3 separate regions of the Homo sapiens genome follow, and all the other regions are linked to region 2. Evidence: promoter capture Hi-C in 16 types of primary human blood cells and fetal thymus (Javierre and others, 2016). All regions are on one chromosome and are shown on one strand. Each heading gives the region's core, a stretch centred on a gene start or on the middle of the fragment in contact. The rest is flanking DNA. Distances are from core to core; before and after follow the strand shown.

Region 1 (4,667 bases), core at 1,405-3,904, 3.4 Mb after region 2:
GTACTGTTGCTTCTTAGCTTATTCACTCAATTTCTCCAAGTATCAATTTCTTCATATGTAACGTGTGATCATTAAATGAGGAATCAAAACCTCTTCCAGCTCCAGGAGCTTGTGGTTCTTTCTAGGACTGACCCTAACATAGTGGAAAGGAGAAGAGATTCTTGGGTTCTAATCTTGATTCTGCCCCAAATTATTTCTATAAACTTGCATCAATCTTTAAAATTCTTCATTCTCTCACCTATAAAGTCAGAGATTAGATTAGTCATGGACCCCTTTGTGAATCTGATAAAAACTAGAGAACTCCTAAAAAATAAACACAAGCTTATATACAACTTCAGAGAAAGAATGAAACATCCCTTCTCCCTCTCTTGTGAATATTGACATGGTATTTCACTTTTGCATCACATGCATATTTTGTTTTTAAAATAAGCTTTAGAGAAGGATGAAAAGAGAAAGAAAAGAGGGGAGAGAGGAGGAATGGAGAGGGAAAGCAGGGAGAAAATGGGTTGCATGAGCACCCAGATGGTTTTCTGTTCTATTGATCAGCATGTGGAGTTAACACCTTGATTGTCAAATTGTCTAGGAATATTTTAATAATGTTGGTACAGATATAGGGAAGTTTATAGGAAATATTGGTCTCTTTTATATTAATGGCTTTGTAGATGGAGGAGGCACAGGATGACAGCTGAAAAGAGGTGCATTCAGATTCATTTAAATATGCCTTGGCACATTTATTTTGAATACCACTTATGTACTCTGGGCCCATTGTAAACAAACGGCCCAGAGTTAAGTGGAGATACACAATTAAATAACCACGCAAATGAGCTCAGAATTGCACACGGAGATAACTGCTGCAAAGACAGTAAACACAGTTGTGAAGCCTCATATAACAAAGGGGCCTGAGTCACTAATGGTTCTCCTGAGGGAAAGACAATTGAGCCCATAACTGAAGGGAGAGCAGGAATTAACACTGCAAAAAGTAGGAAAGAACTCACTAGGAGAAAGGCACCTGGTGGGCAGAGGGTACTTTAAGTATATGCAGTTCCTGAGGTTTTTTTTGCCTCAGCAGTAAATGGACACTCTACTAGGCTAAGTAAATCTTCATCATTTCTTCTGCCTGTGTGTGTGTGTTCTGGTCTCTTCTTCCCTCACTGAAAGGTTATGTGCTATTTACTTCTTGAGGCTGTCAGCATGCTTGCCTCTCATCACACACACACACACACACACACACACACACACACACACACACACACCCCTCTTCTGTTGTTTCTAACCAGTACGGCCTGAGAAACCAGAGAAATCAATGTGTGTGGACTGGTATATGGGCTATGCTACCCTGAATTTGTGACATGTGTCTTAACTTCTCAGAAGCTTACTCCTATGTTGTCTATCACATTTTGGCTAAGAGGCCTCCGGAAAAATAAAGTTCATACTCAGAACTGCCCAAGCTAAAAGAAAAGCTATAAATAAACTCACCTGCTTCTGATTAACCACTGCCCACCTTTTCTTGTTTACTGCCCTGCCTCCTCCAAATGAATCTTTCCATCTTATGATAGCTCCTGAAACCTCTAAGGTTACATTGAACATGTAGTCAACAAATCCAATAGCCTCTTTCCAGTGCTTCCCCATCTGACCCATTTGTATTATGGGACACCGCTGACCACTCCTTTGAAACCCTCTCATCCTTTGGCTCCGAAAGTGATATTCTCGATTCTTGTCGTTCCTCTATGACCACTGCTCAGTCTCCTTTGCTAATTTATCCTCGAGCCCTCTTCTCCCTGGGCAATTGTACTCATTCCCAAGGATTTAGCTATTACAAATACACACACACACACACACACACACACACACACACACACAAAGAAAAGCAAAAAAAGAAAAAATTTCCAACTCTACTTCTTACCTCTCCTGAGCTCTGAACTTTATTTCCTCTGCCTATCAGAAATTTTCACCTCAATAACTTGAACATCCTTCAAAAACACTATGTTCAAAATGAACTCCTTCATATCACGAACCCTCCCCCTCCCCAAAACAAAGATACACAGATATATACAAATAAACACACCTATTTCCCTAATGTGTTTTACTGAATTCCTGAATTGTAAACCTTGAAATCATCCTAAATATATTCTGATTTCTCATTTCCCACAGACAATTGATGGGCTATTTTTATCAATTTTATCTCAATACAGTTCTTACATCCATTCCCATTACCTTTTGGGACTCCATTAACATTCACGTGCACTACGGAAATGGCTTCCTAAATGATACCCATCACTGTATCCTCAGGGTCGAGGAAAAGCTTAGCAGACACTATGCCTGCCATAAGTAATTTATTGAATAAATGCTTACCATGCTATACTCTATACTGAAGCCAGTTATCTTTTTAAAACAGTCTCCTGATTTATAGTGTTAAGTGAAAAAAGCAAAACACAGACTACATCTAAAGTATGATTCTAACAACAACATAATTTTAAAAATTAAAAAGATTACCCCCTAAAACTTTTTTTAAAAAGTATGATAAAAAAGACAAATATACTGTGTCTGCATACAACATTTTATGAAAGAAGACAACAAAATATTAACCGGTAACCTTTGAGGAGTGATAACAGAGGTTTAGGAAAGCAGAAAAAAACTTTTACTTTTCACTTCATATTATTCTCCATCATTTGAAATTTTCAGATTGTTTTTAAGAAGTACAATATACATGGCCAAGCAAAACAAAACAATCGGCCTACAAGGAATCCTGGTTCAGAGGATAAAATATTTCCAATCTAATCTCAAAACACCAGATGTTCCAATCTTATCTTCTTCCAATCCTTACCACTTGCTCTCAGTATACTCACTCTAGCAGACCAGTATCTTCTTAGTTCCCCCAAACAACCATTGGTGTTTCATTCCTAATATGCTTTTAACTCTGACTGGAAATGTCCTTCTTTTCCCTACTTTGCCTAGAAAACTGCCTGTAAAAATCTAGCTTAAATGTAAGTCCTCTGTAAAAGCTTCCCCTACTGACTCCTTCATTTGAGCTCCCTGTGGGACTTAACATATGCTTCCACAGCAGTTTGTGTAGTGATTTATTAGTCATGTTTCTGCTAAAAAATCTTGCCTCTAGGTGACAACAAGTCCTTGCTCACAATATATCCTCAAATATCTAATGTATGAATATCCACCAGTCTTTCCATTATTCTATATACATCCAGTAGCTTCGAGGCTGCTGCTAAAAACCATTTCATGCTCTTATGAGACGTTTGCTACCACAGCATTCAATGATCTCAGCAACAAACTTATAACCTAGACAATAATGCAATCAGATTTTACTGCAGTGACACACCTAACAGCTACTCTGTAGCATGTAAAAGCCTCAACAGGACGATTAACCAGCAAAGACTAATCCACCCACAAATTACCTAGATGCTCAGACCAATCCACCAGTTGTTATACTTTAGCACATGTTCAGCTTTAAGAATCTTGACAATCCTTCATCGAGATGATGCTCGATTCTTTATTCCTTTAATAAAAAGCTTTTTTTTAATCCCTTCTTCCTCCTTTTTCTTCCTCAAATTCACACCACCTAATAACACCTTCCTCTACTGATTCCACCTTTGATTGTTCCTTAGGATTCTGCAATGTGGTGCTTTTGTGTGAATTAGATTTAGTAGCCCTAGTGCACAAACTATACGTAAATTTTTAGACTAAATACCCTGCACCTTAAATATCATTGAGTTTATAAAACTCCACTTATTGAGAGTTAACAAATATTTACTCACAGAAATGATGTTATACAATATTATACTGAGGTTAGATCTCCAGGAAGCTGACAAAAACCTTCTTAACCTACAATATCCTTTAACACTAACTAGCAAAAAGCCTAAATTTTAAATTAGCAGGACTGACAAAATTTTAGGTAAAACTATTCCTGTTTCTTACATCACGGCTAGAATTGAAGACTTGGGTCTTTTAGTTCTTACCAGGCAGGTGAATAGTGAGGCCCCTACCCTAAGCCTATCGTGGGGAAGGAACTTGTGGAGATAAACACTAGGGTAAAAGAAAACATCTCTATCTTATATATAGGAGATTGACAGGACTTATAGCCTGGAGAAATCTAGCAGCCTTCTCAAGTCCAAGTAGATGTCTCTGAAAATGTTCAGGAGATAAAAAGCTTCCTCGGTCAAAAAATATTTTATTTTCCCCCACCCTTACTCAGTCTTGATAAAGGACAACAAAGTTGCTTCAGCTAAAGTTGGCTTCATCTTCATTTAAGTGAAATACCCAGCTGGGCTATGCTGAGTATTTCATCTCAGGTACTGATGAATAGGGACCTGGTTTCCCTATATGAGAAAGAACACTTGAAATTCACACACCACAAGTCCCAAGTAAGTGGTGATGGTACCTTTTTTTTTTTTTTTCTTTAAGACAGAGTCTCGCTGTGTTGCCCAGGCTGGAGTGCAATGGCGCGATCTTGGCTCACTGCAACTTCTGCCTCCTGGGTTGAAGAAATTCTCCCACCTCAGCCTCCCGAGTAACTGGGACTACAGGCGTATGCCACCACACCCGGCTAATTTTTGTATTTTTAGTAGAGACGGCATTTCACCATGTTGGCCAGACTGCTATCGAACTCCTGACCTCAAGTGACCCACCCGTCTCAGCCTCCCAAAGTGCTGGGA
Region 2 (4,277 bases), core at 12-2,511:
TTCTCAAGGTCTTTCTGCAAAAGTCTCCTCCAATTAAAAAAAAAGTAGAGAAAAAAAAATTCAACGTCTAAAACCGGAGCCTAACTTCCCGCTGGCGGGAATTTCCCATCAGCAATCTGAGATTCAAACCCGATGAGGAACACAGTCCATGTTCATTTGCACTTACTCATCGTTTTCCCTACTTTTTTCCAGAAGCTACGGTGGCGGCACATCTACCCAGGGCCTGTACAAGTACACGTAGAAAGGAAGCCCAAACCCTTTTCCTTTGTCACATTCCCACTTCCAACCCTTGTCTCCCTGGAAGCCCAGAACTAGCCCAAGTACAAATGCCGCTGCAGCCTTCTCGGCAGGTGGCCTTTTGAGGCTGATGCTGCCCCGAGGGACAAGTGCTCTGGGGGCAAAGACTAAAAACAGGCTTGGGAAGCGGGGAGCTCGGAGTCAGAGGGCCCGGCGTCAACAAATCCCCGCCCTTCCCGTGCGTGCCTGTGACCCCGCTCTCCAAACCCGTGCCTTGGGCCGCTAAGGAAGGAGGATAGCCGTACCCACCTCGCCAGCTCACTGCAAGAATCAAATGAAAGGCAGAAAAGTGGCTCCGCACAGTGCCGGACACACAGTGAGGGCGTGGAAAGAACATTGGTTGTTACTACCACTCCGTGCACTCGCTGCTCCCTCTTTGCTCTCTGCAAAACCGAAGGCGCTTCTGCGACGCGCGGACCGCAAGACTCCAATCAGACTTTAGTGCTGCCCCCACCCTAAACGAAAGCCTCCTTCTGGTCCGAACCGACTGGATCCCTTGGCCAGGGGAGGAAAAGGTGCCGCGGGCGCGTGGCGGAGAGGGTGGCGGGCGGGAAACGCTGGGCGCGGGACCCCTGGCCCCAGAGACCGCCCTGGGGCCCAGGCGGCGGCCGCGGCTTACTCCTGCCCCGCGAGGCCGTTGGACGCAGCACGCGCACGCGGCGGACACGGCCACGCGCCCCAGCCGGGACGGGAGCGGGAGCGAGGAGCCGCCGCGCGCCCGTCCGTCCGCCGCGCGCGCCTGCGGCCGTTGGGGTGGGGGTTGGGGTGGGGGACGCGACTGGCGCGGCCGCCGCGAGCGCCACTCAGACTTCTCCCTCTCACAAGTGCTGCGGCTCGGCTTAGTCCTCTGGCCTCCCTGCCCCGCCCACACCCCGGCGTACCTACGCGGCTGAGCTGGAGAGGAACTAGCTCTGCACCACAGCACCGAGGATAGTACAAACCCCTCACGCAACTGCGTCCGCACACACGCGTGCTCCGCCGCCGGTCTATATAACTGCCACTCACCCTAACTTGTTGCGGCCAGGTCGGGCGACGGGATGACCAATCCCGACCGCGTCCTCAGGGCTCTTCGAACAGTAATTGGGCACTGACTCGGGGATGAAGGCGTGGCTCTTGATTGGCTTTGACTCCTGCCTATGAGACTGTGAGGATCTCGTTTCCCTAGTAACAGATCGGCACTAAGAGAGACCAATAACCGAAAAGTACAATAGAAAGGCGAGTGAGCAGTTCTTTGACTGATACTCAAAGTAGCCAATAAATGTGTGGGGCTGCTCTTATTCGTTAACACGTCTTCCCCTGGGCGGAGATCCGTTTTCCATGCAGGAGCGGTTGCGCCACAAGGTGGGGCCCGTGTACTTTGGGGAAGTAAACCCCTAGCAACTAGGAGGCGGGCGTCCGAGAGGCCAAGACAGCCTGTGGCCAATCGCAACGCCGGAAGGAGCTGATAGACACGGAGGTTGCTCTGCTCGGAAGAGACCGAGCCCCAGGGCCGCCGTGCCCTCTGGGCGGTTGTGAGGCTGTGCAGCCTGCGGCTTCTGCCCTCTTTCTTTCCCTGACTGGTTGGGTCCGGCCTCCGAGGCCTGTACCCCGCCTTTTCCGCATAGGTTTGTACCTGGCGAACCAACTAGTAAAGTTTCCCGGGTTGTTTTCTTTTTATTACAACTTTTTTCTTACGTGCGGCGGCCAAGGGCCTTGCTGCTCTCACCATTACTCAGCACTGCTGCGGGGCAGAGGAAGGAGGGTCGTTCCTGCGCCGCCCGCAGGCTCCCGCCGGAAGGTCGCCGGTGGAAGGCCTGAGAGTGCGCCCTTCCGCCAGGCGCTTCTTGGCGGGCGCTGCGAGGCGGCCGCGGGCGTGTGGCGAGGCTCCCTTTGTGGCAGCTGAGGCACGGTGGTCCGCGCGTGCTCCAGTGGAGTGTGGGCCCTCGCACCACGTCCCGAGCTGCACCACTATTGTTCAGCCTCGAATTGCCGCGGGTGGGGGCTTATTCTCGTCGCTACGCCTTTAAAAGGCAACTCGTCCCCTCCTCCTGGCGTTTCAGGCACTGGCGGGGCTACAACTCAAGGCTGGCCGGCCCTATTTCTATGGAAATAGCTTTGGTTCCCAGCCGTCCGGCACAGACACGCCCCGGTTTGTTCTCGTTCCAGGCATGTGACCAGGGTCTCCCGCGGAGTTTTGCTGAGAATTTTGGAAATGAAGCATGTGGAGCGCCTATGTCGGGGGAGAGAGGCCGAGCTGAAGGAGCACGGGCGCCGGCCTCGGCCTCTGGGGAGCCGGGCCCGCTCGCCTCCCTGCGCGGGGCTAGCCCGAGCCTGGAACTCGGGAGGCCCAGGAGCGAAGTGAAAGCCCCTTCTGGTCCCCCAGGGCTCCACTCCCGCAGCAGCCCGGCTCCGTCGGCGTCAGTGGAGCCCCAGGCCTGGGTCCGAGATGAGCGAGACGCTGCTCTGGCTCGCGGTCGCCCGAGCGCTCCCAAAACCAGGGAACAGGCCCCAGGAGAGAAGCCCCTAGAAGTTTCCTGGAGCAGGGAGTCTCCTGTATCCTGTTAGCTCTGCAAAGGAATCTGGACTTTATTCTGAGGGCCTTGGAGAACCCCTGCAAAGTTTTTTAAAAGGTGGACTAAGAGATTGGCATTTCACAACATGACTCTCCGAATTGAAACACTAAGAAGATTGGCGAAATTTAACATTTACAGATTAGTAATTTAACCCAGGTGACTCGCGATGAGGGACATGGCTACCCTTCACTTTTGGAGGGAGTTTTAAGTGATACAGATCTTTTTGCCAAGCAATTTTTTTTTTTTTTTTGAGACGGAGCGTCGTTCTGTCGCCCTGGCTGGAGTGGAATGCCGTGATCTCGGCTCACTGCAACCTCCGCCTTCCTGAGTTCAAGCGATTCTCCTGCCTCAGCCTCCCTAGTAGCTGGGATTACAGGCGCGCGCCACCAGGATCTGCTAATTTTTTTGTATTTTTAGTAGAGACGGGGTTTCACCATGTTGGCCAGGCTGGTCTCGAACTCCTGACCTCAGGTGATCCACCTGCCTCGACCTCGCAAAGTGCTGAGATTAACAGGCGTGAGCCACCGCGCCCAGCAGCAATTTAAAAATCTAATAAAATTGTGCATATCCCCCAAAACAATAATGTCACTTGGTTGATAGCCACATTTGTTTACAAAGGCATGTGCCAAGACTTTCACTGCAGCTTTGTCAGCATTGCTAGAAGATTTAAAACCCGAACACTTAATGTTCATCAATTGATAAGCTGTTTTAACAGTGATATACACGTAATATAGAATATTATGCAGCATGCCGGGCGCGGTAGCTCACGCATGTAATCCCAGCATTTTGGGAGGACGAGGTGGGTGGATCACCTGAGGTCAGGAGTTTGCGCGACCAGCCTGAGCAACATGCGAAACCCCGTCTCTACAAAACAAATTCAAAAACTAGCCGGATGTGGTGGCACACGCCTGTAATCCCGGCACTTTGGGAGGCTGAGGTGGGAAAATCACTTGAGCTCAGAAGGCAGAGGTTGCGGCAAGCGGAGATCTGCACTCCAGCTTGGGCACCAAAGTAAGACTCTGTCTCAAAAAAAAAAAAAAAAGAAAAAGAATTTCGTCTTTAAAAAAAAAAAAGAAAACTCTGCAGAGTTACTAATAGTCATTGCAGAATTGTTTGTAGTAGAAAGAGCCAGAAAACAACCGAAATATCTGGCTGAATGAAACTGGTTAGATAGAGCACTGCAAAACAGTATACTTACAGTAGACTGTCATGCAGCCATACAGAAAATGGGGTAGATCTACTTGTATAGTTATAGAGCAGTCGCCAAGAGATATCAGTAAATGAAGGAAGCAAAGTGCAGAATAATGGGAAAAGTATTCCTGGGTTTGTATAATAAAGGAAGAGGGATATCATGGGGTGATTATGTCCATTAAGACATATGTATTGCTTTAGTTATCTGCACTACACATTTGTTCCCATATGTTTTTG
Region 3 (4,292 bases), core at 720-3,219, 3.1 Mb before region 2:
GTCATGATCGCAAGAGCACACTGAACAAAGGAGAAAAGTTTTTATCCCTAATGCAGCTTCTGTTTCTGTGTCCTTTCCCCATTGGCTGTAGTCGGACCACACAATGTAAGCTAACCCGATTGGCTAAAACTTGAAATTTTTCCAAATAGGGTAGATGGGGAAGAAGGGGTAGGAGTGGTAAAACTTTTCCAAACAGAGTAAACTGAAACATTTAAATGCGTAACTTGTTGTTTTTTTTTTGTTTTGTTTTTTGTTTTTTTTGAGACTGTCTCTGTTGCCCAGGCTGGAGTGCAGTGGCGCGATCTTGGGTCACTGCAACCTCCACCTCCTGGGTTCACGCCATTCTCCTGCCTCAGCCTCCCAAGTAGCTGGGACTACAGGTGCCCACCACCATGCCCGGCTAATTTTTTGTGTTTTTAGTAGAGACAGGGTTTCACTGTGTTAGCCAGGATGGTCTCAATCTCCTGACCTCATGATCCACCCGCCTTGGCCTCCCAAAGTGCTGGGATTACAAGCGTGAGCCACTGTGCCCAGCCTAAATGCGTAACTTGTAAAGAAAAGAAAGGAGGGGAGGGAGGGATTGTCCGTTAAGGCATGTTTGGGCATGTTTAGGCATGGCAAAGATGGAAAGGCTTGTTTAGAGAACAAGAATGTATCTTCTAGCAATGTGAAATGACATTAGTCGCTAAAAGAAACAAAGAAGTTTGAAGAGGAACTGACTGTTTCTGGCACCAGCTATTTGGGAGGCTGAGGCAGGAGAATTGCTTGAACCTGGGAGGCGGAGGTTGCAGTGAGCCAAGATCATGCCACTGCACTCCAGCCTGGGCGACAGAACAAGACTCTGTCTCAAAAAAAAAAAAAAAAAAAAAAAAAAAAAGAATTACAAGCCAGCACGGTGGCTCATGACTGTAAGCACTTTGGGAGGCCAAGGCAGGCAAATCACTTGAGGTCAGGAGTTTGAGACCAGCTTGCCCAACATGGTGAAACCCCATCTCTACTAAAAAAATATAAACATTAGCTGGACATGGTAGCATGCACCTGTAGTCCCAGCTACTCAGGAGGGTGAGGGTGCAGTGAGCTAAGATCATGCCACTGCACTCCAGCCTGGATGACCGAGTGAGACCCTGTCTAAACCTCGAAAGAATTACACCTTAAGTGATTCTCTTGGTTACCCTACAGTGCCATCACTTTTTGAGGATGAGCATTCACATAGACCTATATGCACTCATACACACAAAGTTCTTGCCAGTTCCAAGACTTGTGCTCTTTCTTGCTAAAGCACTACTCTAAGCTCTTAACTCTCACATGCAATGATGACCAAACCCCACACTCAACACTGAGTTCCTCAACCCTTTGAGCATTTCTCCTGACATGTAAGTAAGTCCTTAATTGTAGAAAATATTAAATGTCCTGCTTTAATTCAAATTTGGAAGGGTATCTGCATAGCGCTCACAGTCACCAGCATGCCAGGGCACCCTGGTTGAGAACCACTGACTGCTGTTTCACCAGAAATTACAGTGATAAATCTCTTGTTTTGTCAACTTCCCAGTCACAATTCCATATCTGCCCCTGTACCAGACTTCTTAAAACCCCACATATTTTGTGTCAACAGAAATGGCTGGAAACAAAGTCTTGAGCCAACTCTAGGATATCTGAAGTTCAGGTTGTTTAAAAGAATCCCACTAATTAACAAGCTAATCCACCATATATAGTGGAGTGACCCCAGGAAATATTAGACTGGTTTAATTCTATAATATTAAGACCCAACAATCTTGAGTATGAAGAGACAATTCCATTTACACAGGTGCTCGTGAAAAGCTTCCTACCAAGTGATATGTATTTTTTTTATTCCCGAACCCACCCCCCAAGTGATATTTTGTATGTAAGCCAACTTGGGGACAATGGAGGCAAGATGCTCTTATTTCACTGATGGCAAATGACCATCTTCCAGAGCCAGCAATCCATAGCTATGAAAGACCAAACCTTAATGCCAGTGGTTAAAAAGAAATCTTTATTTTACAAAATTAAAAACATAAATAGTATTTACAAGCATCTTAAATACCAGCTTATAATACTTGACATTTTCTAATCATTTCAAATTGAGTTTCCCATAAGCTTTTAAAATGCAAGACCATTCATTCACTTGAGTGAGTTACCAGTTTTTACTTCCACCAATCCAAAGTGGGTTTTGGTTTTTGAAATTGTCCATACTGTAGTCATTCAAAAAAATACAATATGCTTTTGAAATGACTAGCTTTAAAGAAAAAAGTCCTGAGCTTCCTACCCCAGTTGTGGGATATTACTCCAAAACAACTCAAGAACCCAAATTATCTTACTGCCTGATTAAATGTAACCACTCTAGCTTTTTAAAGACACATTCCTGTTACTCACATTAATCCATCTCCCTCACGTTTCAGGTTTGCTGGAAGGAAAAGTAGAGAAATAATGGAGTAGAGAAGTGGGAGAATCCAGATGACCATCTGAAATCACATTACTGAAAATACAACAGACATGACCCAAAAATCTGATCTTACTAGTTTCCTTCAGGATCAAATCCAGGATATTTTATTGTACAAAAATTTCAAATGATTTCAGATGATGCATATGTGACAGCAAACCTGAATGGCACAATGGAACACAGACTTAAAAGATGCTTCAGTGGTCAACACTCATTCTGGAGTTCTCATGAATGAAGGGTAGACAGATTCAGTAAAATTGTTTGCTTTTCAGTTTCATTATCTGGTCTTCAAATTTCAGCACAGAGCAATTCATTTCCATATAGTAATATGTAAAGAGAGACTACAAAAGTGTGAGGAAAGCAAATGTCCTCGAGAAGGGTCAGAAAAGGAAAGGAAGACTCAGTATCTACAACCCATTACCTAAGAACACCATTTTGTTCCATTTTCCCTGGAAGCCCTCACAGCTCAGCTGAGAATCAGAGTAAGAATCTTCATTATCAGAGATTAGCAACAAATTTAAAAGAAAAAGAATGACAACAGGTAAGAGTTATATACATTTTACTACTTTGTTTCAGACTTGTCCTGATATTTAAAAAGGTGTCAAATGAGCCATGGATGCTGGTGGCAGGAGGCAACCAGAGAGGAGAGGCTCGAGTATGAGGAATGGGGAAGACTTATTTACAAATTCAGAGCAAACTCCTCTCTTCTGGGTCTAAAATAAAAACATCTTTTGTCTTCAGTAAAACAAAAGTCTTTCTGCTCAATGCAGATGGTAGGTACAGTGTGCTCAAAAGAAGCATTTTCTCTTGGGGAAGATAAGTACACAGTCAGCACAGTAAGCACCACTCTGGGATCAGGCCCACCCTGCAGAGCCTGGCGCCATCACTGCTGCATGTTGTTGATAATCGCCAGGATGCTCATCTTCTCCTGGGCAGAGTCCACATCCTCATTCTGCTTCTGGGCCACTCCTGTGCCTAAGCCATAGAGCCGCCCACAGTACTTGGCATCATCAATGCTGTCCTCAAAAAACAACTGCAGAATGGGACAGAGAACCATGGTGAGAGTTATGCTAGAAGTCATGACAAGTATAAATATTATCACATCTGGCCGGGTGCAATGGCTCACGTCTGGAATCCAAGCACTTTGTGAGGCTGAGGCGGGCAGATCACTTGGGGTCAGGAGGTCGAGACCAGCCTGGCCAACATGGCAAAACCCCATCTCTACTAAAAGTACAAAAATGAGCCGGGCATGGTGGCACATACCTGTAATCCCAGCTACTTGGGAGGCTGAGGCGGAAGAATCACTTGCGCCCAGGAGGCAGAGGGTGCAGTGGGCCAAGGCCGTACCACTGCACTCCAGCCTGGGCAACATAGCGAAGACTCCATCTCAAAAAAGAAAAAAACCACTACCACATCACCACCTCCCAGCCTTCCTAAAGCCCTGAAAATATACCAAACTAGAAAAAAAAACTAATAGTATAGAAAGGCTCGGCCAGGCACAGTGGCTCACGCCTGTAATCCCAGCACTTTGGGGCGCCAAGGCAGGTGGATTACGAGGTCAGGAGTTCAAGACCAGCCTGGCCAAGATGGTGAAACCCTGTCTCTACTAAAAATACAAAAAATTAGCCAGGCGTGGTGGCAGGCACCTGTAATCCCAGCTACTTGGGAGGCTGAGGCAGAGAATTGTTTGAACCCGAGAGGCAGAGGTTGCAGTGAACTGAGATCACACCACTGCACCCCAGCCTGGGTGACAATGCAAGACTCCGTCTCGAAAGAAAAAGAAAAAGAGACAGGGTTTCACTCACTGCAACCTCCGCCTCCCAGGCTCAAGTGA

Evidence for each region. Contacts are between HindIII fragments. The CHiCAGO score rates a contact against its expected background, and 5 or more counts as called.
Region 1: a fragment that was not itself captured here is called in contact with the fragment with the promoter of G3BP1 in region 2 in 3 of 17 cell types (fetal thymus, naive CD8 T cells and total CD8 T cells); the score reaches 7.5 in fetal thymus.
Region 3: a contact is called between a fragment that was not itself captured here and the fragment with the promoter of G3BP1 in region 2, in 1 of 17 cell types (M2 macrophages). The highest score is 8.0, in M2 macrophages.

What each region holds. Positions count from the first base shown.
Region 1 is chr5:148,389,775-148,394,441 of GRCh38, reverse strand. The region is part of intron 1 of FBXO38 (F-box protein 38); the gene reads right to left. Among named protein-coding and RNA genes, the nearest start is that of FBXO38, 8.2 kb to the right of the region's middle. The HindIII fragment of the contact is 700 bases long and covers 2,305-3,004 here.
Region 2 is chr5:151,768,938-151,773,214 of GRCh38, reverse strand. It overlaps G3BP1 (G3BP stress granule assembly factor 1), which reads right to left and starts at 1,261. Exons shown (of 12, transcript NM_005754.3): 1 at 1,179-1,261. LOC100652758 (a long non-coding RNA gene) reads left to right here and starts at 1,039. Exons shown (of 2, transcript NR_132345.1): 1 at 1,039-1,512; 2 at 2,443-3,422. RefSeq lists silencers at 635-704, 755-1,084 and enhancers at 1,293-1,587, 1,845-2,074, 2,453-3,174. The HindIII fragment of the contact is 14,997 bases long and covers 1-4,277 here.
Region 3 is chr5:154,874,489-154,878,780 of GRCh38, reverse strand. CNOT8 (CCR4-NOT transcription complex subunit 8) reads right to left here. Exons shown (of 7, transcript NM_001301073.2): 7 at 1,989-3,491. The coding sequence ends at 3,342. It overlaps LOC124901119 (a long non-coding RNA gene), which reads right to left and starts at 22. Exons shown (of 2, transcript XR_007059011.1): 1 at 1-22. The HindIII fragment of the contact is 297 bases long and covers 1,821-2,117 here.